Regions from separate parts of the Homo sapiens genome. Here region 1 is linked to region 2. The links are contacts of gene promoters, found by promoter capture Hi-C in human tissues and cell types (Jung and others, 2019). All regions are on one chromosome and are shown on one strand. Each heading gives the region's core, a stretch centred on a gene start or on the middle of the fragment in contact. The rest is flanking DNA. Distances are from core to core; before and after follow the strand shown. Region 1 overlaps RAB28 (RAB28, member RAS oncogene family). Region 2 holds the start of NKX3-2 (NK3 homeobox 2).

What was found. Contacts are between HindIII fragments. The study calls those that stand out against the background at their distance.
Region 1: a fragment that was not itself captured here is called in contact with the fragment with the promoter of NKX3-2 in region 2 in 2 of the 25 tissues and cell types used here (hippocampus and neural progenitor cells).

What each region holds. Positions count from the first base shown.
Region 1 is chr4:13,476,364-13,482,676 of GRCh38, reverse strand. It overlaps RAB28 (RAB28, member RAS oncogene family), which reads left to right. Exons shown (of 7, transcript NM_001017979.3): 2 at 3,151-3,247. Among named protein-coding and RNA genes, the nearest start is that of RAB28, 4.8 kb to the left of the region's middle. The HindIII fragment of the contact is 3,960 bases long and covers 689-4,648 here.
Region 2 is chr4:13,541,991-13,548,566 of GRCh38, reverse strand. NKX3-2 (NK3 homeobox 2) reads left to right here and starts at 4,059. Exons shown (of 2, transcript NM_001189.4): 1 at 4,059-4,618; 2 at 6,039-6,576. The coding sequence starts at 4,153. The coding sequence ends at 6,574. LINC01096 (long intergenic non-protein coding RNA 1096) reads left to right here and starts at 743. Exons shown (of 1, transcript NR_015450.1): 1 at 743-2,491. RefSeq lists silencers at 607-906, 1,097-1,216, 6,134-6,263 and enhancers at 932-1,432, 1,433-1,933. The HindIII fragment of the contact is 14,287 bases long and covers 1-6,576 here.

The DNA of each region.
Region 1 (6,313 bases), core at 1,419-3,918, 64 kb after region 2:
CTTTTCTTTATAAAGTATATTAATTTTTGTATACTTAGTAAACTTTTCGAATGAATGAATTGCTATAAATAAATCATTGTTTCTAACACCTTTATTCAATAAAAAGTTTGTTAGATTTTTATAGTTTTCTCATCATTTAGATTTTCTTTTGAAGGCCGTCTAAGGTTTTGGCTCTTAAATTTTACTGTATTCAATTCATAACTGATCTTATTTCCCATTTAAAATGATAATGACAACTCATAACAATACATTTGTAAAAAGACACAAAAATTGCTGGTTATCCTATATGCTATCATAATTCTTTAAACTGTTGTTCATTTTTCTAACAGTATTTATTGTACATATATTACTTAGTGAAATTTGTTCATAATTTTGCGTCTGAGTTTTTTATTTAGCCTATCATACATGTTTCCTCTTTGTTGCTAATTTAGTGTGAATAATTATGGTTTTTTATCTCTGTTTAAAATTTTTTCTTGTATAGGACAGGATAATTTTTTCACTTCCATGTTTTTGAATTAGTATTATCATTCTGCTTCAAAGGATAACAGTTAATATTTTTTATGGTGCTCTGACTTAATCTTCATTATCTTGACTAAATAACTTATTTTAAAACTGTAACAGCTTTTTCTAACAGGAACTTCCAGACACAAACATCTGACACCTAACCTTCTTTCATTATTCTTAAATCAAGAATTTTTTTCTCCATACCCTATTCAGTTCTCAAATACTTGGCAGCCACCAACATTCCCATTCTTTTTCCTTTATTGTTCTTTTCTTTGTGAACTCAGCCTCTCTTTCATTCTTACTTGTATCCTGATTTAACTCTTGGCTCTTTTTTCCTGGCATTTGTTTTTCCTGCTCAATCTAACTCTGAGCATTTTTCAACACACTGACAGATGCAATAGAGTATTGAGATGATGACTAACAGTTTCTCCAAGAGAAATTTAGCTCCTCCTTCCAGTATCACGTGTTTCTATTTCTTTCCTTTTCTGATTCATATTTTTTCTTTTATTACATAGTCTCTTAAGAGCTTTTTGAGGCAAAATATTCTTTTTTTTTCTGTCTTTTCAGTGTTTGTAAATGTAGCATGGTTAAAAAATGTTAGTAGAAATTTACCAAGTCAAAAATGTTAGTAGAAATTTTCCAAATCAAAAAATATAAAGATTCAGATAAAAATATTTCTGATATGGGAGCTAGTTGTTCACTTAATACCTGTAATTAAGAAGGGTATTTATACAGTGACTTGAGAAATTATTGAATGTGAAAGATAGCATGCAGTCTAGATAAGTGAAGAGAAAGTGACCCCCACTGATTCAGTTGATTCTCTGTTCAATTTTTATCTCAAGACATCGGGAGATGATATAGTAAGAACTTACTTTAATACTCTGTATGTTCCCAGTAACCTGTATTTTTGACAGTTTACACTCGATTCCAGTTGAAAATCCTAGCTTTATGTTTGCCTCAAAAGTGTGAAAGCAGGGCTTTCAAAATCTAGAAGTCACTTTTTCAGGAAAAGAAACTTTCTTAGAATTTTTCTGAATATTCCTTAACATGAAAATATTGAACTCTGAGATTCTTTAAAGTGAAAAATTATCTCAAATGACATTACGTGAATGTTACACATGCCTTCAGTTTCTCTTTGACCTTTAAGTATTTCAACCATCAGTCTATTAAATATTTTGAAATATCTGTAATAGTATAAGTAGTGATAGTTATTTTTTTCTAGAATTCTGAACCTCTTCAAAGATGATTTTGTGGTCTAAGTTAGATAAGATCAGTAGAATAATATAGTGTAGATGAGAAACAATGGTCTGTAAAAAGAAATACCTATCTTTTCAATTCTGATCTCTCAGTTTTGATAGTGTTACATGTGTCAAAAATATAACAAATGTGTTTGTTTCTAGATGTCTAGCAGAATACCCTTTATATGGTAGTGCTCAACAAATACTTGGCCAATTATCTTCGAAATTTATTACAAATGCTGGGTATTTAAACCCAAAAATATTTGGAGTTATGGTGTCCAAATTGCCATTTGTGTGAAAAATATGGTTCTGTGTAAAAGGAATTTTAGATGATCTTGCTAAAAGGAATTGAAGTTTGGCCAAATTTTCTTTTGCACTATTGTACTGCTTATGTCATAAGGAACTGTAATAAGCTATCTTGGAAATTTATCTTAGTTTTCATTATTTTAAGAGTTGACATGTAATTTTAACTTTTAAAATAAAAAACGGCTATTTTCTCTTAAAGTAGGGAGTCTGTCTTGAAGAGCATAAAAGCTTAGTGAAGTTGCCTTTCTCTTTTTTGGAGGAAGTTTATAAATAAAAATAGTGCATTTAAAATGTTTAAGAATTTGTTAAGTTATTGTTATTCAGTTGTTACTAGAATAATTATTCTTTTGCTTTGATAAGAAATGGTACTTTAAAAAGAAAACTCCAGAGTTTTTGACTAAAACTTTCAGTTTCTATTAAAAAACAAATGTATATCTGTTCTGGTTATGATAGCTTGTGACTTCTTGGCATTATGGTTCTTGGATGGAAAATATTCATTTTGTCTGCTTTATATTAATCTTAAAAATACGTTTATTTAAGAGGTACATATTGTCACAGTCTTTCTTTAGGGTCATTTTCATTTAGCATCTTTAAAAATAAAGAAAAATTACATACGGTGCTTTTCTTGTGGGAAAAAGAAAAATTCTGTAAGCAGATTTCTCCCTCCTTAATGAATGCTTCTTATTATTAGCTTAGTGCTCAGCTACCCTCAGAATATTTAACCTCAGAAGCTGATCTAAGTTAGATTAGATCTTTAATTATGTTTTAAAATAATTCAGATCTTTATTTATTTATTTTTTAGTTTTTTTTTCTGTTGATAACTCTCAAATTCTAATTTTCAGCAAGGAAAAGGATCTTGACAAGCAGGGGATTTAAAGAGATCTAACTCATTAGTTCGTTGTCCCTACCGATAGCTGCTGGCAAGTAAAATTTACCTGGTGGTGTTAAGTCTCTCCCCTCCTTGTAACTGATTAGAACTGCTTAAATTTGCTTGTTGGATTAATTGCAATATACATGTTAAGATTGCTTAAGATTTATAGTGGTCTTATGATTACATTTCTTTAATGAATTAATTTTGACATTCTGTGCATCAATTTTTTAGACCTCCTTAACTACGTGTTTTGCTCAAGAAACTTTTGGGAAACAGTACAAACAAACTATAGGACTGGATTTCTTTTTGAGAAGGATAACATTGCCAGGTAAGAGACTAAAAAGTCTTAACGTAGAAGATTATAAAAAAATCTTAACAATAAGTGGCATAAGAAAGAAATGTGTAAAATTTTGGGGCTGCTTCTACATGAAGATGTATATAAACAGTAAATTTATCTTAGGGATGTTAACTTTCATCACAATCTATCATGAAAGCATATTGTCCATGGGTATAAGAAAAAGTTTATATACTCTCCCACTCCTTCCCTGTTTTTGGCTACTATACATTTTTTGAGGATAAACAATGGTTGCTTATAAAATTGTGAAAAGCTTTTAAAAAATTAAGTGCTGTACATTTGTCAACAGATATTGTATTAACAAAATGTGAAAAGATTGGGAAGGATTATTTTTTAAAATATTATTTTGATTTGCCTCTGTTTTAGTTTTTTGTTTAAAGTTGGAACAGAAGTATAATGTAGCTATGGAACTTCTGTGCTCTAATATGTGAATGCTGTTTTATGCAAGGCAGCATGAAATTGCTGGCATTTAATAGACCACTAAAATTTAGGGTCCCTAGGCACTCATAAAAATACAGTTTGAGCATTCAAGATGTTTCACTTCACCATGCAAAGAAACTATTTAGATGCCAGTTGCAGCACATTTTGTGGGAAATACGGGGAAATAATAACAAAGAAAGAGTGGTTTATGTTTTAAGTTAGTTTCTGAACAATTGGGGCTTTAAAATGCTGTCCTTTCAATTTCAATGGTTAAATTATATGTTTAAAGTATTTTATTAAAAGCAGTTTATCTTGATTGACTTTATAAACCATCCATCTCTCTCCTCTGTGAGGAAGCACATTTGGAGAAAATGGTTGCAAGTGTAATGTCAGATTCATGTACTGAAATGTGAGTGATACAGTGGGAAGGGGTTTAATACATTCCAATTATTATTGAAATATGTTAACCTCTCAGACACCCCATCTATCAGACAACTCCCCATGAAAGTTTTAGAGTAGGTAATGAAAACTCTTGGTAATGGAGGTATTCTTCTTATCTCCTTAGTAATATACTCTGCTATATTTTGTGATAGTTTGTATTTGGCTACCAGTGAAAAATAGATTAGGAGATATCCCATGAGAAAAAAAAGAATTCCAATTTTTCCATTACTGGGTTATTGTTCAGCAAGAGGTTTAAGGAGAAACATATGCGTACTTTGTTTCATTTGTATTTTCTTTTATTGTATCCAAAACTGAAAATGTCATTTTAATTTTATTATTCTCACTCTTACGGATAATCTATGCTGCATTCAGAATACTTAACAGCAGTCACTAGCTGAATACATACACAGATCACATAATACAGATGCTGGAAGCTTATTTTTGCAGGAGTTTTTTTCACAGATGCCAGTTGTACACAGAGAATCTCAAATGTGGCATTTCATTATTAGCTATTTTGTTTTGATGCTTAATTTGAAAAGCCACCAACTTCTTGTCTCATTACTTTATTATTTCTCATTTTTTAGTTGAAAAGCTTAAATAAACAAGTACCTACTCAAATATTAAAAACAAAGACTGGTTTTCAGACATTTTATACAGGTGATATGATGATTTCTGACCTGTGGCCCAGCACTACCAATTTAAAAATTTTGATTACTTTGTAAAAAATATTTGATATTCTTGAAATCGAGATTTATAGTATAATATTTTAGACTTAGTAATTAGGTTAAAAAATGACATTAGGGCATGTATACTAATGAATGTATATTTTAATTTTCCTAATTAAGTTTTTATTTTGATGGCAAAGTTCCAGAAAAAAACTTCTATTTTTTTTTTAAGGCAGTTGGTTTTATGCTACTTAACAGACTCAAACTTATGGTAGAAATTTCAATAAGAAAAAATATTTTAATGTATTTTGTTTTTATATAATTAATAGGTATATTAAGAAATGAGGTGAATAAATTACAAGGTTTATAATTATCCTTTATATACTTTAATGTACATTCATTATAAGTGTCACATGTAGGATGATTAATGTATCATTAGCTGAATAAAACATTACAGGTAGCTTTATTGAATTTATAGCATAGTCGGTGAATCTAATATTTGTTACTAGTCTGGTAAGTCCTCTGACCAGTTAGATTGTTAGGGGTGTAAACCTCCTGTCCATCTATTTACATTCTCTTCATGCAAGTTTTCAAGATCATTACTTTGCAAATACTCATCCATTTTAGTATATTTCATGATCCGGTATGCTGTATAGTCTGGATGCAACCACTGTGCAGATTTTACTGCTTAAAATAGTGTATCTGTTAGTCAGAGATTCTGCTGATAGAGCTTCTTAAGAGCCTTAGTCAAAATACTTTCAGGAAGCTTGTGGGTACAGTCCAGTAAACAGCGTTCTACTGTGAAAAAGATTTCTAAGTCTTTAGTACAAGAAGTGGGCAGACTTGTGTTTTTAGTTCCATCTTGACTATGCAGCACTTTAAGTAAGGTTAACCAAGGCACCAAGTGTACTTTTACAAGGTCACTGTTGAACCCTCTTGGTGGCTTTAATTCATACCAAAAGCAACTTACCTGTGTTTTGTCACCTCATTTATTTTATTTTTTCTCCTAGTTACATGTCATTTCTTACAGAGGAACAGGAATTTTGCAGCATTTTGTGTTTGGGATTAGATTTCTGACAATTTCCTTAATGTTCTTTATTGGTTAGAAATTTGTATTAGATATATTCTTGATTTAAACAAAATTATAATATTATTTGAATATTCTTATATAGCTTTATAGGTATGTCATCTTGAAAATATACTAGGAGAATTCATATGTTTATGCCTGCAAAAATGAAAATGAATATTGATTTGAATCATATCCTCATGGGATTTTGCTCCTCAAATAAGGAATCCACATTTTATTTTTAGTTTTATGTGTTAATAATCCTAAAATTAAAATGTGGAGTTAAAAATATATTTCTAGATATAAGAAGTAATATTAAAATATCATTTATTGAAACTAAAGATAGTCATTTTTTGTTAGCATTCTATATTAGTGGACTATCAGTAATTCATAGCTATTTTTATTTCTGAGTCACTGGAATTTGTATGTTAAAAAAAACAGGCAAAC
Region 2 (6,576 bases), core at 2,810-5,309:
CTGATAGTCAGGAGTCTCAGTTTCTTCATCTGTAAAACGGGCATAACAATGTTTTCTACTCATTCCAATCCCAGGGGTGTGTACATTCAATGAAACAATAGGCTTTGGTTCCTGGCACACTGTCAGTGAGCAATATTTGTTAAAATATAAAACTACCTTTTATATTATTATTTATAGTATTATAAGCTGGCCAGTTACAATACAGCCTCTCTCTGCAGTCTGATATATTTTGATCGTGTGCATGAAAAACGCTGCAGGGCGCTGGATTACTCAGGAACGCAGGCGCGGGTGCTGGACGCTTGGGATGCTTAGGCGGTTTGGATCGCCCTCGGGAGTCTGCGGATTGGGACCGACGGTCAGTGCTGGGCGCGACCTCTGCCTGGACCTGGCTCTGGGGAGCCGGCAACGCTGCCCCTCCCTCCCCTCGCCCCCGCCCCCACCCCAAACACACACACACACCCTTCACTTGCTCACTCAGTGAAGCACCGGGTTCAGAAGGCACCGGGTCCAAACCCTCGTTTTAAAGGACTGGAAGCTAGAGAAGGCAGGTGACTTCAATCAAGGTCACCGGCATCTGAGGGACGAACCCCGCATGGCCTTTCGTTGCTGGGCAGCACCCGGCGCGCGCGACCTCCGGCCGCTGGCGTCAGGGAAGGCGGCCCAGGGCACAGGTGGCGGGCGTCGGGGGCGAGGCGCGCGGTGGCGCAGCCAGGAAATCCCGAGCCCACTGGGCGCCCCCCTCGGGAGCGCGGGCACGTGTGCAGCAGTTTACTGCGCGCCCCCGAGGGCCGGGGCTTCCCCTTCCCCGCCCCCTTGGCTTTCGCAGTCAAATCCCGCTCTCCGCCCGCCGCCCGCGGAAGTCTCACCGCGCAGCAGCACCCCCAGCCCGGGCGGTTCCGGGGACCGAAGGGCGCGGCACGTAGGGGGCCCGTAGGATCCAAACTGCGGAGGAGAAGCAGGAGGAGGGAGGAGGAAGAAGACAAAGGTGTGGAGGAGGAGGGGAGGGAGGAAGAAGGAAGAGAGGCAGAAGACTAGGAAAAAATGGGCCCGTGGGCGCGGAGGGGGCGCGGCGGGGTAGAGAGGCGCGGACGCTGAGCGAGCCCGGTGCCTCTCGAAAGCCTCACCGGCCGCCCGGCCGGGCCGCGCAGCTCCGCCAACTCCCGGGCCGGCCCAAGCCGGAGCGTGGCGCCCGTCGGGAGGTTGCAGAGTTCCTGGAGCTCACAGCTGAGCCCGAAGGAAGTCGCCCTCGATGGGCAGGAAGCGGGACCCAGGCACGCCCGCGCGGTCGCGTCCAGATCTGCCGTCCTCCGACAGGCGCAGGCCTGCTGCGCCTTCGCCACACACCGCCACTCTGGGCCTGGACTCCGTAGTTACGCCGGGATATCTCTGGGCATACAACCACCTCCCCTTCCCCACAGTCTTTTCATCTCCACCCGACCCCTTGCTAGGAGCAGCTTCTAGTTGCAGCTCAAGACCCGCGAGTTCACCCTCCGCGCCAAGCACCCAACTCCCGGCTCTGCCTACAGTCACCCACAGACCTAATGATCGACTAAGCGCCGTAATGGCCCGAGATGACACCAGGAGACTCCCTTGCTGTGCGCCTCCGGAAGACGCGGAACGTAGCCCCTTTCTCACACTCCTGGGACACAAAAATACCCGACAACTCAAAGTCGCCAAACCACATCTTTTCATGCTTTGAAGACTTCTGCCCAAGGCTGTGGCAGGAGTATGTCCAACTGTGATTTGGGATTCTTTTTAAACATCGAATCAAAGGGAAGAGGGGAGGGATTCGCAACTAAATGGTAGTTGTTTTCAAGCAAGTCTTTACGTAGCCCCAAACCTACTCTAGTATTCGGTGATTCAGCCCCAAAACATCTCTGCCTGCCTTTATGTTCGGATCTCACTCCATTATTTGTCAGCACCAAGTACTAAACCCACAAAGCGATCGCTGTACGGGACACCAAACCCATACCTGCCCGTCCCCTACCTTCCAGGCAACCAGTGTCAATCTCCTCACTATACATAATTCCCAACATCCCTGCCCGAAGTGAGGAGAACGGTAATTTAAATAATACAGCGGGGGAGGAGAGGACACACTGTTTTTGAAAGACTGTAAGCATTCTGCTGTTCCACTCTGCGTCCTTACACTTGCTGAGCACTGACACCAAATTTAAATGGCGTTCCTTCAAAACTGATGTAATTGTAAAGAGCTGTAAAGGGCAATGACCTCAAGTGGATGTTTTTTCCCAGGTACCCTACAAGGTTTGCACAAAGCAAGAAAGCATCATGTAACCGAAATGCTGAAAAGTATAGATGCTGCAAAACCTCATTCTGAGACTGAGAACTATGAATAGTCAGTGTATTTCCTTCTGCGGTGCAGAAAAAGAACAACCAAAAAGAAAGCAACAAGGGGAGATGTTATTTATTTTAATGACACCAAAACTACCAATCCTAGCAATTTAATAAATTAAAATCATAGTCCTTTAAATGTATTTAATGGTTCAAGTTTGTGTATTTGGTGTTAACTCTCTGGTAAAGTTTATGGAAAACAGTGAAGTACGTTAATTGAGCAAATTTTATATTAAAAAAGGAATAACACATTTTAAAATGTTTTTATATACCCACAATATTTGTGTTTCTTAGCTTGGTTCCTACTATTACATAATACAATGCATTTCTTATTTTTTAAAGAGCAAAAAGTGTTGTCACTTCTGGATCACTTTATGGTAATTCCTAGGTATACTTCTAAGCAAACAAACATATCTATTTATAATTTTATTCAACTCACAAGTAAGAGATATTTAAAAAAAACAAATTGAAAGTTTTTTTTTTCTTCCTGATGCAAAACTTAACAAACTCCAATTAAATTCAATATTGGTCTGCCAGGGAAACGACCATAAAATTTACAGAAATTCTCCCAAAGATGCCTTTCAATTCTTCTCCTGACTTTAGTTCTAACTATACCATTTTTTTATAATTCCTCTATAAAAATCGAATCAAATCAAAGACGACGAGGAAAGAAAAATATTTCTAGAGTGATCTTAATTAACTGATCATTTCAGCAAAGAGCATTAGCAATGAAGAAGCGGCGAAACTGTAGGGAGAAAAAAAAGGATGCATTTTGTTCTTCGTGTTTATAATCCTTCCTAGAGAACAGAAACTACGAGCATGATTTATGGAACTGCATTATCTTGGATTTTCTCCGCAGATTTGACTCAACTTAGTATCAGTGTTCTGTTAAAGCGCTGGAATAAGTGGATACATCTGCAGAGGTAAGAAACGTGGTTTGGGTCGGATGAGCCTCCTTGTTGCTGGAGGGTGCTTCGAGGACCAGGCTTAGGAGAGAAGGGGTTAAGTCAGACCCTGTCTTTAGCGGCGCAACGTGCCCAGTTTTGTCTGTTAAAGTCAACGTCGCCCAACTGGAGCCAGCCAATGGACGGCCGGGAGCGCCCGGGACAGCCCAGTGGAGGGGTGTGGCCTCAGGCTGTCACTCAGCAGTGAGGAATGACACCCGGGCGGGAGGGGGGTGGTACAGTGGAACGCAAGGGAAGGAAAGAGAAAAGAAACAGATAAAACCAGGGCAGGGGGTAAAAAAGTTCCCCGCGCCTCTCGGAATCCAGCGGCCGCGGCCGCGGCTACCGCCGCCGCCGCCGGGGGTGGGCTCCGGAAGAGCCTGCCCAGCAGGGAAGGGGAGGACGGGCCAGGAGCGAAATCCTGCAGGCGAGGAAGGGACAGACGCGCAAAGAAAAAGTGACTCGGGCTGTGCGCCCCGGCGGCGCTCGGGAGGGGACTGCTGCCACGGAGGGGCCCCCGCCAATCCTCCTTCACGTCCCCCGAGGGGGCAGACCCCAGCCCGCCCCTAAGGGCGAGAAGCGATGAGATAATCCAGCTGAGCTGCGAAAGGAGAGCGTCTGGCTCTGGATTCGGGGGGAGGGGGTCTCCGGGCGGGGTGGGCCTCTAAGGTGGGGGCGAGGGTCGGCGCTGATCCTGGGACGGAGTGGGGCGGGAGCTGCTGGGCCGCGCAGCAGTGGGCGGCGGCGGCCTCGCACACCCAGCTCACTCGCGCTGCGGCCGCCGGCGCTCTCTGTCCCGCTCGGAGCTGCTCGGCGCCCCAGCTGCCCGCCCCGCCGGCCGCTCCTGCCCGCGGCGCAGATGGCTGTGCGCGGCGCCAACACCTTGACGTCCTTCTCCATCCAGGCGATCCTCAACAAGAAAGAGGAGCGCGGCGGGCTGGCCGCGCCAGAGGGGCGCCCGGCGCCCGGGGGCACAGCGGCATCGGTGGCCGCGGCTCCCGCTGTCTGCTGTTGGCGGCTCTTTGGGGAGAGGGACGCGGGCGCGTTGGGGGGCGCCGAGGACTCTCTGCTGGCGTCTCCTGCCGGTACCAGAACAGCTGCGGGGCGGACTGCGGAGAGCCCGGAAGGCTGGGACTCGGACTCCGCGCTCAGCGAGGAGAACGAGAGCAGGCGGCGCTGCGCGGACGCGCGGGGGGCCAGCGGGGCCGGCCTTGCGGGGGGATCCTTGAGCCTCGGCCAGCCGGTCTGTGAGCTGGCCGCTTCCAAAGACCTAGAGGAGGAAGCCGCGGGCCGGAGCGACAGCGAGATGTCCGCCAGCGTCTCAGGTCTGCTGCGGCTTCGCGGGGATGGGGGCCGGGCTGAGGGGATGGACGCGGAGGGCAACCACGCCGAGTGGGGTGGTCGGCTTGAGCACCCTGCGCCCTGGGGCTCGGAGGCTGGCCAAATCCCGAAGTTCTGCGCTCTGGCGCGAGCTGCTCTATCACTTCGGGAACTGAGCCCGCGAGAGACCGGAGTAGCTCCTCAGAGCCCTACGTCCTGGGGTGAGGCCTGAGACATCCTGGGCCAATGTGCATTAGACTGGGTTGGGAGAACCGCTGCCCCTTGCGTTCGGGAGTTTTTGAGTTCGTCGCCAGTGCTTTCTGCCGTGTCTGTCCCCAAATCCCCAAAATCAGGGAAGCGGAAAAGTGAGGGGTTCAGAGACCTCAGGTAGCCAGTGACCTAGCTCTGGACCAGAGACCTGCCAGTTCAAGGTCCCAGGGCCGGGCCCCACAGTAGGTGGATAGGTGGTGAAGAACACCTCCGAGTGGGCCAGAGCTGAGAATCTGCAGAACTAGAGCTTTGGGGAAAGGGCTGGTTTGGCTTTCTCAGACCCCAGGTCTGGGAGAGCAGCCCTAGGCCGAAGATCCCGGATTGGGTCTTTAGTTCATCCTGGAGGCAGGAGAGAGGCCTCCTCAGCCGTGGCCTGTCCTGTCCTGTGGTCTGGAAGACCCGGGTGCCTGCCCTAGTTGGGTACAAGCTTCTGTAGGCCTCAAGCACAGGGGACCGCTGGACCTTTCTGCTGGAGTTCTTCGGAAGGGCGGGTACGAGACCGAGAAGCTGGTGTGGGATCAGGGTCCAAAAACTCGATGCAGGGGCAACCCTCCCTCTTTACTCTCCAGTCCATCCTCTCATCTAAGGCCTCGGCTCAGCCTGTTTCCATGTCTCTCACAGCAATCCCAGGCGGCTGAGGGTGAAAGATTCTAAATACCTTTGGCCCCAGGATCCGCCTCCACCTTCCCTTACCTGCACCAGACAAGTGTGTGCTGCGAGGACGCGCGCGTGTGTGCGTGTGAACTAAGTGTGGAGAGGCGCGTGAACCCAAGCAGAGAGACGGAAATGCAGTCTAGAATCCCAATGCTCAACGCTGAGAGCCGGGAGGGCTTTCGCGGATGCTCGGGTCGAGTGCCCCAAGTTACTGAGGGGAGCCTGGGGCCCAGAGAGGGTGGGGAGCTGGTCTCGACAACACAGCGTTGACACAGCGGCTGAGTCTGCCGCCCTCCCCAGAAGAGGCCTAGATGGGATACCCAGTGGGGCAAGAGTCTAAGACTGGTCTCCCGGGCCCAGGGCCTCCCAGACCTCCGCTCCGCTTGAGTGGGATCAAAGTGTATTTCCGCCCCACTCCCGTGACCCCTGCAGTTGAGGCCCGGCCTCACCTCGTCTGTGGCGCTGACAGTCTCTTGTTTCTGTTCCCACCGGGGTCCGCAGGCGACCGCAGCCCAAGGACCGAGGACGACGGTGTTGGCCCCAGAGGTGCACACGTGTCCGCGCTGTGCAGCGGGGCCGGCGGCGGGGGCGGCAGCGGGCCGGCAGGCGTCGCGGAGGAGGAGGAGGAGCCGGCGGCGCCCAAGCCACGCAAGAAGCGCTCGCGGGCCGCTTTCTCCCACGCGCAGGTCTTCGAGCTGGAGCGCCGCTTTAACCACCAGCGCTACCTGTCCGGGCCCGAGCGCGCAGACCTGGCCGCGTCGCTGAAGCTCACCGAGACGCAGGTGAAAATCTGGTTCCAGAACCGTCGCTACAAGACAAAGCGCCGGCAGATGGCAGCCGACCTGCTGGCCTCGGCGCCCGCCGCCAAGAAGGTGGCCGTAAAGGTGCTGGTGCGCGACGACCAGAGACAATACCTGCCCGGCGAAGTGCTGCGGCCACCCTCGCTTCTGCCACTGCAGCCCTCCTACTATTACCCGTACTACTGCCTCCCAGGCTGGGCGCTCTCCACCTGCGCAGCTGCCGCAGGCACCCAGTGAAC